Regions from separate parts of the Homo sapiens genome. Here region 1 is linked to region 2. Evidence: promoter capture Hi-C in 16 types of primary human blood cells and fetal thymus (Javierre and others, 2016). All regions are on one chromosome and are shown on one strand. The core of a region is centred on a gene start or on the middle of the fragment in contact, and the rest is flanking DNA. Distances in the headings are between cores, read along the strand shown. Region 1 overlaps WASHC5 (WASH complex subunit 5). Region 2 holds the start of LRATD2 (LRAT domain containing 2).

Region 1 (4,258 bases), core at 470-2,969, 1.5 Mb after region 2:
AATTCTCCTGCCTCAGCCTCCCGAGTAGCTGGGATTACAGGTTTTTGCCACCATGCCTGGCTAATTTTTGTATTTTTAGTAGAGCCGGGGTGATCCCGGCTCTCCTAACCTCAGGTGATCCATGTGCCTCAGCCTCTCAAAGTGCTGGAATTACAGGAGTGAGTCACCACACCTGGCCCTATTCTCCTCTTTAGGAGGGAGTCAGTAAGTCAGCTTATACTCAAGGGAAGGAACCTACATAGAACATGAATACCAGGAGGCAGAGATCATTAGGGACCACTTTAGAAAGCTGCTGACCATACCCAGATATCCATACTGCTTGCTCTCTCATTTCCTTCTGACTTCTGCCCGAGGTGCTCTATGGAAACTAGCATATGCCCCATCCTTTATTATGTTTTTTCTTCACGGCACTTATCACAGCCTAATATATAAAGCTCATTTTCACAAATTTCAAGATACATTTGTAATCAAAACTTTTTCTTCTCCTTTTTATGAAACATTTTTCTGTATTTTGTAATCACTCTAGCATTTTTCAGATATGAACTATTCTTAATAGCAAGAATCTCCTATACTTGACATGTGAGAAAATTTTTTTTTTTTTTTTTTTTTGAGAGAGGGTCTCATTGTCACCCAGGCAAGAGTGCAGTGGCACGATCATGGCTCACTGCAGCCTCAACCTCCAGGGCTCAAGCAATCCTCCCACCTCAGCCTCCCTTGTCACTGGGACTACAGGCTCGCACCACCATACCTGACTGATATTCTTTTGATTTTTAGTAGAGACAAGGTCTCGCTATTGTTGCCCAGACTGGTCTTGAACTCTTGAGCTCAAGCATTCCTCCTACCTTGGCCTTCTAAAGTACTAGGATTACAGGTGTGAGCCACCGTTGCCAGGCCTAAAAACATTTCTAAAGATTGTTCCCTCACCTACTTGTTGTTCCCTCACCGACTTCTAGTGGTTTTTAGGACATAGCTCTCTTTTTCCAAAGATAAGACAAATGGCACAATTCCTGTAAGGAAATTGCAATAATCAGCGGAAGCAGAGAACTGAAAAGATGGGGATTGGAGGAAAATGCAGTAGTACAATACAGAAATAGCTACATGGACATTATTATACAAAAGCAATGACTATATTGCACAGCATTATAGAAAATGAAATATCACAATAACAGCATCAGCATGCTGTTTAAATTGACAACTTGTACTGTTAGTCCTCAAAACTGAATCTCAGCACTATGGCAAACTACCCCAAGACTTATTTGCCCAAAACAATACAATATGTTAAAAATTTATCATGATCCTGTGCATTAGGAATTGGGAAAAGGCACAGAGGGCTTTGCTGGCTGCAGAAGCCGAATAGCCTCATCCCTTATATGTCTAGCACTTCAGCTAGGAAGACTTAAAGAGCTGGGGGCTGAGTGGACCAGGTCAACCCAAGTCACACGTCGGCACTTCAGTTTCTGCTGTCTGCTGGCTTTCTTCATTCTCTTCTGTGTCAGGACTTTTCCCTCTCAGCATGGTCTTTCCTCTTTGTAACTCCTGTGATCTCTCTAGCAAGATACCCAGACATCTTACATGGCAGCTTCGGACACCCAAAGAGAGCAAAAGGAGATACTGCCAGGCCTTCTCAAGGCTTAGGCCTGGAATTGGTAGAGAGTTAATTCTACAGTATTCTTTGGGTTGAAGGAAGGAAGGCACAAGCTGTTATGAGCTGAGTTGGGTCCCCCCAAAATTTATATGTTGAATTCCTAACACTCAGTAGCTCAGAATGTGACTATATTTGGAGACAGGATTTTTAAGGCGGTGGTTAAGTTAAAATGAAGCCACTAGGATAGGCCCTAATCCAATATGACTGGTATCTTTGTATGAAGAGGAAATTTGGACACAGAAATTTACAAAGGAGGGCCAGGCTTGGTAGCTCATGCCTGTAATCTCAGCACTTTGGGAGGCTGAGATGGGAGGATTGCTTGAGCCCAGGAGTTTGAGACTCCCCTGGGCTACATAGTGAGACTCCCATCTCTATACAAAGAAATGAGCAATGGGGTGGCCATGCGAAGACACAGGAGGAAAATAGCTGGCTACAAGCCAGTGAGAGAAGCCTGAGAAGAAAACAGTCCTACCAACACCTTGATCTTGAAGTTCTCGCCTCCAGAATTGTGACAAAATAAATGTGGTTGTTTAAGTCACCCTCTCTGTGGTGCTTTGTTACGGCAGCCCAGCAAACTAATAAAATGCAATCCAGACTCATTGAGAGGGAAAATAAGGTTCAGCCCTTCACTTAAGGTGCTGTATGGGCTGACTTCATGGCAAGGAATTGTTGGGAGCCATCTTTGGCAACCAGTTACCACATTATTATAATCAGATTGCTTTCCAAGCCCCTAGAACTAAGAAAAATGATTGTTGCAGGGGAAGGCACACAGGCCTGAACAAGAAGGGGTACTCAAGTCTGTGGGCAGAGGGGAATGTAAGAAGGAGTAGCGTAATGAGACAAATTACCTACTTCAAGAACTTTCTGAAACCTCATCAAGTCCGAGGAGTTATTTCATTTGTGTAAGTCTTTCTCGCTTCCTTCTCCAGTTGCCCTTCGCCTTCTACCATCTGCTCACCCCTGCTATCTGCACTGGCTGTAGGAGGAAGCTAGTGGGAAGGAAAGGGATGGGTCAGGAAGCAGTTTTATCGAGAGTCTCTGTGTTACAGAAGATGCTTAGAAGGCACAACCTGGGTAGTGACATGCTCAAAGACTTATGTGTACAGGAAAACATCACATGTATGTTTTGTTGGTTGGTTGGTTTTCATTCCTAGTGACATCTTTTTTTCCCTTTTCCTTGTTACTTGGCTTCTGCCTCCGCTTCTCTCTCTGTTCTCTCTTTGACAGCTTGTGAGATCCCTTTGCATGTTTTAGAAATCAACCCTGTGTCTGCCCTTTGGATTTCAAATCCATCTTCTAAGTCATTTACCATGGAAAAGTTTTTAAGTGTTACATACTAAAATAGGTCATTCTTTTTAGATGCTAGGTTTCTTTCTCTAGCCCCGAATTCCTAGATGTCACTTTACTAAAGATCACCCAGTATAAGAATACCTTTCCCAACAGAACACCTAATAAATGCTCCATACTGACAATTAAATGTATGTTACACTTCTTATTTCTTTATTGTAAAGACACACTGAAGCACTTCATCTCTCTGATTTTTTTTCTTCAGGGCTCATCTCCAGCAGTATAGCAGGCAGCTAGAGAGGACAGACATCACCTCTTGTAACCCTAGTATTATTTATGCACTCCTTATACTTGTCAGTGCCAAGGAATGAGTTCAGCACAAAGGGCACAAAGATAAATATTGTTAATTTCCTGTTTGCCTGCTGCAGTTTTCTATAAGACCAGTCATTCTCTACTCTTTTAATGATCCTGGCTTCACATCAGAATCATCCGGGGAGATTCTTAAAAACAGAGATGCTTAGGACTACCTCTAACCTACTTACCAGAAACTCTAAGATGCTAGGTGATTCCCTTAAGCAGCCAGGCTTGAGAACCACTGGACTAGAAGGTGAGATGTTTAAACATCTTCATATCCAGCCTGGCAAAGAGGTATTCAGCAAGGAGTGGTTGGGTAAAGATCAATCCTTGCCTTCAAGAACTTTCAGAATGAGCTGTAAGCAACGATAATATTCAGTATGCTAAGTGATCTAACCATCCTCAGAGAGTGCATTGGAATACAAGAGAAGCAAGTAATGGATTCTGCTAACAGTGCTAGATACCTAAGTGCTGAATTTTATGAGACTTTTGGACCAGTTTGATTTAGTATTTATAAATCATCTTCACAGAATTTTGCAGAACCTAGCATCTGTAATTTTAAAAGGAATCTTGGACATGTTCTTACCTTAAGCTTGCAGTTCCATTTCTGGGAAATAATTGGACAAATGCCTCAAAATGATGTACAGGGATTTGTCTCTGAGCTCTCTTTATAGCGTTTGAAATTATTTGCTAATATATCAAATAGTAGGAGATAGCTTGTATAATCAGGGTACATTGGAACCACACATGCCCAGTGGTTCCTTCTCCCTAGCACAGAGATGAGCTGTATCATATCTTTTTCTCAAGAGAAGTGACTAACATGTTGAAGAAGAGGCCAAGAGTGTTAATCTAGCAAAGTCCCTCCACATGGAAAATATGAAGAGTGACAGATAAACACCCTTTCCCCTATAAAGGAACTCATTATTTCTTAAAATTTTTTTAGTGAGTTTGGGAGAAAAATGTGTTTCTTAT
Region 2 (4,487 bases), core at 401-2,900:
AGACAAAAGGAGACACACCTAGTCAGCTAGGCATTGCTTCCTCACCCACCAGATCTCTGACCTAGAGTGCTGGTAGCAAATTGTCCTACAACTGTGTCCTCTCAGTTCAATTCTCCCATTCCCAGCCATCCCAGTAGCACCTAGGAGCAAAGTGGCCTCCCAAATCAGGCAGTAGCAGAGGTCTCCCAATCTGATGAACATAGGATGACCAGCCATAATCTCTATAAGCCTAACTCTTGTCTATAATATGGTGATCATATGATGGCAACAAATATCACTCAGGTAACAGCAGCCCCCCACACCATTTGCTATCAAAAGGACTGGGGTGTGTTGGATTCATTCAGTCACATGCGCCTGAGGCCAGCCAGTCTGAAATTATTGAAACAGAATCGCACAGCACACAGTAGTCTCATGTTGATCTAACTTATACTTCAGACTTGCTGAAGGACTAATTTCTATCACAGCCCTGCCAATATTGATTGTTTGGACTCAAAATTACATAAGTAGAATGATTTTTATTTTTTTCTCCTAAACTAGAAAGGATCACAGTAGTGCTAGTATATTCCTGTTTCCACTGGCTGGTTATACATGCTGGAAAAAATTAGTCAAAAGAAAGCAACTGAAGACAGAATATAGGTCTTGAATCGCATTCTTAAGTCCCCTACGAATAAGTCTGGGTGCTTGCAGTAGTGCCTAAACTTGTTTATTGTAAACAGAGCTGTTAATCCTCCACCCTCACCGGACCCATTATTTTAAAAAAATAAACAACAACAACAACAAAAAAAACACTTTGGTAGCCTACATTTAGGTAAAAGAAACGAAACCAGTGGAGAGGTGGAAGTGTCCTTTTGTGGTGGAGGTTAGTAGGCATTACTGGTCTCCTGTCACTTCCCTAAGTCAACAGGAAGGAAATATATCCACTAGGGCCTCTGCTAATTTGTTTCTAATTTAAGGACAATTAGAATTAGGATGTAGGAATTAGGCAATTCCTACATCCCCTAACCCCCCACCCCCCCAAAAAAAAGCAGTCAGAGCTGCACGCTTCTCTCACTATCCAACGAACTGGTACCTCTCTGGAAATAACGGAGGTTATGAACTTTGTACTAACTTCCAGGGGTATCTAATAAACAGAGCGGTGGTCTTGGGACCCAGTCAGTGAATAAGTCTTCGTTCTGTTTTATACTGTTTCTTTTCTGCGATTTTCTTTTCTACCCCAAAGTTTCCCACTACTAACTCTGAAAACACCTCTAGGATGACGCACTCTTCGAGCTGTCCTGGTGAAGAATCCTTTCTTGTGACCTTTAGGGCAAGAAATATGTTCCAGGAAAGAAAAGAAACGACTGTTCCTCCTTCTCCAGGTACTCTGGGAAAAAACAGGTCAAAGGGAAAAGGCGCAAACACCAAACTCTCCTTCCCTTTCTCATTTCCACACTGGCAAGTTGTGTTTGCCTTCTAACTTGTCTCGGAAGGCAAGCAGAGCTCACAGCACCAGCCCCAGGCGGCGGGTGGATTATTTACAGGGGGATTTAAACCCGCTCCGGCGCGGGGGCGTGGCCGGGCGGAGTCCCGAGGCCCGAGTGGGCGGGGCGGGGGCGGGGCTCCCGGCCGCTCGGCGCAATGTGAAAAAGACCCGAGCTCGGGGAGTGAGCGCCTGTCTCTTTAAATGCCACGGGCTGCGCTCCCGCCCGGGAGCCCGGAGCCGGATCTACAATCCCGTCCCTCCAGCTCCGGTGCTTGTTGCTCGCCCGGCCCAAGCGGGAGCTGTTGCCGCCAGGCTGCGAGGCTGCCGTCCTCTCCTCCTCGCGCCCCACCTCCCCCGAGAGCTGGCTGAGGAGGGGCAGCAGCCCCAGCTGGCGGGAGGAAGCGCGGTGTGAACAGGGATTGCCCCCCGCCTTCAAGTATCGGGGCGCTACGCAGCCGCGGGGGAAAGACATGCCCCTAGTCTGCCCGCTGCGCTGCCCTCTGCCCAGCCTCGCTGCCGCCCGCGCCGGGAGAGGAGGGACTGCCGAGCCTACACCTTCAAACTCGCCCTAGAAGTCTCGGGGCGCGGCAGGGAGCCCTTCCCCAGGCCCCACGGCCTTCACCTCTCCGCGGGTGAGTTTGTGCAGGTAACCCGAGCCTGAGGGCGGGCGCGGGGGAAGGGCGGGCGAGCCGGGAGGAGGTAGCGCTGCAGGTGAGCCAGGTAGGGTGACTCACCTGTCCAGGTCGCGCTCTGAGATCCTCGCTTGTTCCTCTGGGGATGGATGCGTTGGTGGGGAGGAGGCGTCCCCGGGGCTAGTTAGGGCCCGAGGGTGGGAGGGGAAGTTAGCAGAGGAGGGGGGGGATTGGCGTAAAGTTTCTCTTTCCTTCCCTCTTCCTGCCCAAGCTTGGCAGGTAGGGCGCAGGCGGAAGCAGTAGAAGCTGCTGATGCAATGGGCTTTTGCCAGGGCCAGGCGAAGGGCTGGGGACAGGGAGAACAGGAGTTGCCCAGTCTCCTGTGACCGTGACCTTACAGGTGGAGAAACGAGGGAAAGCTCGCTACACCCGAGACTTCCCCCTAAAATGGCTCCAGGTGCTGAGCCCCCACCGATTCTTTTTCGGAACAAAACGCCCTTTTCACGGAGGGGCTCCTGCATGGCTTTCTTGCCTTCCTCTCCCAACAGGTAGCCTCAGCCCCTGTCCGGGGACCTGTGCAAATGACCCTGGAGTTGGTTTCGCTTTCTCCCCTTGCGGCGGTGTGAACGTGTGTCCGCAGCGTGATGGGCAACCAGGTGGAGAAATTGACCCACCTAAGTTACAAGGAAGTTCCCACGGCCGACCCGACTGGCGTGGACCGGGACGACGGGCCCCGCATTGGGGTCTCCTACATTTTCTCCAATGACGATGAGGACGTGGAGCCGCAGCCGCCGCCTCAGGGGCCAGATGGCGGCGGCTTGCCCGACGGTGGGGACGGGCCGCCGCCGCCCCAGCCGCAGCCCTACGATCCGCGGCTGCACGAGGTGGAATGCTCCGTGTTCTACCGGGACGAATGCATCTACCAGAAGAGCTTCGCGCCGGGCTCGGCGGCGCTGAGTACCTACACGCCCGAGAACCTGCTCAACAAGTGCAAGCCGGGCGATCTGGTGGAGTTCGTGTCGCAGGCTCAGTACCCGCACTGGGCCGTATATGTGGGTAACTTCCAGGTGGTGCACCTGCACCGGCTGGAGGTGATTAACAGCTTCCTGACTGACGCCAGCCAGGGCCGTCGCGGCCGCGTGGTCAACGATCTGTACCGCTACAAGCCGCTAAGCTCCAGCGCCGTGGTGCGCAACGCGCTGGCGCACGTGGGTGCCAAGGAGCGCGAGCTGAGCTGGCGCAACTCGGAGAGTTTCGCCGCCTGGTGCCGCTACGGCAAGCGCGAGTTCAAGATCGGCGGCGAGCTGCGCATCGGCAAGCAGCCCTACCGGCTGCAGATTCAGCTGTCGGCGCAGCGCAGCCACACGCTCGAGTTCCAGAGTCTAGAGGACCTGATCATGGAGAAGCGACGCAACGACCAGATCGGGCGCGCGGCCGTGCTGCAGGAGCTCGCCACGCACCTGCACCCGGCGGAGCCGGAGGAGGGCGACAGCAACGTGGCGCGGACTACGCCGCCTCCCGGGCGCCCCCCTGCGCCCAGCTCCGAGGAGGAGGACGGAGAGGCAGTGGCACACTGATGGGCGAGCTGAGCGCAGAGCTGCGAAGGGGAACTGTTTGCAGTAGCAGCCGCTGCTCCCTTTCTCCCTCTCTTCCTCCCTCTTTTGCCACTGTCTGGGCCCCATCTGGGATTCCTGGGCCCTTTGGAAAAGAGTTGGTGAAATGCGCAGCCGGCTGTGGACGGGGGAGGAGGAAGGGGACAGAGGGAGCAGGTAGGAAACACTTTAGTTGGGGGTGGGGGGCGTCTCCCTCTGGCCCCCTGTCTGTCTTCCTCTCCGCGGTGGAGCAAACTGTGGACTTGCCTGGCACTTAAACCTTGGTAGATCTGGGTTTATAATCGGCCATTCTTAAGCACGTGGGGTTGGGGGAAAGTTCGGAGTACCCATTCCTGCCGTTGCTTCCTATCCTGGGCTTGGAAGAATCCTGGTAGAAAGGCCAGAGTGGGTTTGTGGAGTCGCCACTGCGGGACCAGCACGAAAGCTGCTTGTCTGCTTTGGCGGAGCTGAGCTGTGTATGGGATCCAGGAGGCTGGGGTGATTTATTTTATGGGATTCCTGGAGCGCAGGGCTGGTGAATCCATGACAAGGTCCGGGAGCAGCAGACCAAAACCACAGCAGCCTCCTATTAAGTGTAACAAATAGTTAAGCAAACTCGGGCTACAAACAAAGACTTTGCTACCTCCCTCCTCCACAACCCCCAAGTAATTAGCCTTCTGGAGCTGGCTCTTAGCTGAGGCTCCTGCTACCTCCTGCTCCACCCGCCCCTTCCTAGGTTACAAGTAAATCATTGTCAAGGGCCAGCCAGGGGAAGGTTTCAATTAAGGTTCTGTTCTGCTG

The links. The method cuts DNA at HindIII sites, captures the fragments that hold promoters and counts their contacts. A CHiCAGO score of 5 or more calls a contact.
Region 1: a contact is called between a fragment that was not itself captured here and the fragment with the promoter of LRATD2 in region 2, in 1 of 17 cell types (fetal thymus). The highest score is 5.1, in fetal thymus.

The regions. Positions count from the first base shown.
Region 1 is chr8:125,084,082-125,088,339 of GRCh38, reverse strand. All of the region lies in intron 1 of WASHC5 (WASH complex subunit 5), which reads left to right. Among named protein-coding and RNA genes, the nearest start is that of WASHC5, 5.6 kb to the left of the region's middle. The HindIII fragment of the contact is 4,323 bases long and covers 1-3,880 here.
Region 2 is chr8:126,555,641-126,560,127 of GRCh38, reverse strand. LRATD2 (LRAT domain containing 2) reads left to right here and starts at 1,650. Exons shown (of 2, transcript NM_174911.5): 1 at 1,650-2,094; 2 at 2,643-4,487. The coding sequence starts at 2,739. The coding sequence ends at 3,671. It overlaps LOC105375751 (a long non-coding RNA gene), which reads right to left and starts at 2,252. Exons shown (of 6, transcript NR_188069.1): 1 at 2,197-2,252. RefSeq lists silencers at 1,518-1,697, 3,586-3,705 and enhancers at 1,412-2,248, 3,226-3,375. The HindIII fragment of the contact is 2,746 bases long and covers 1-2,367 here.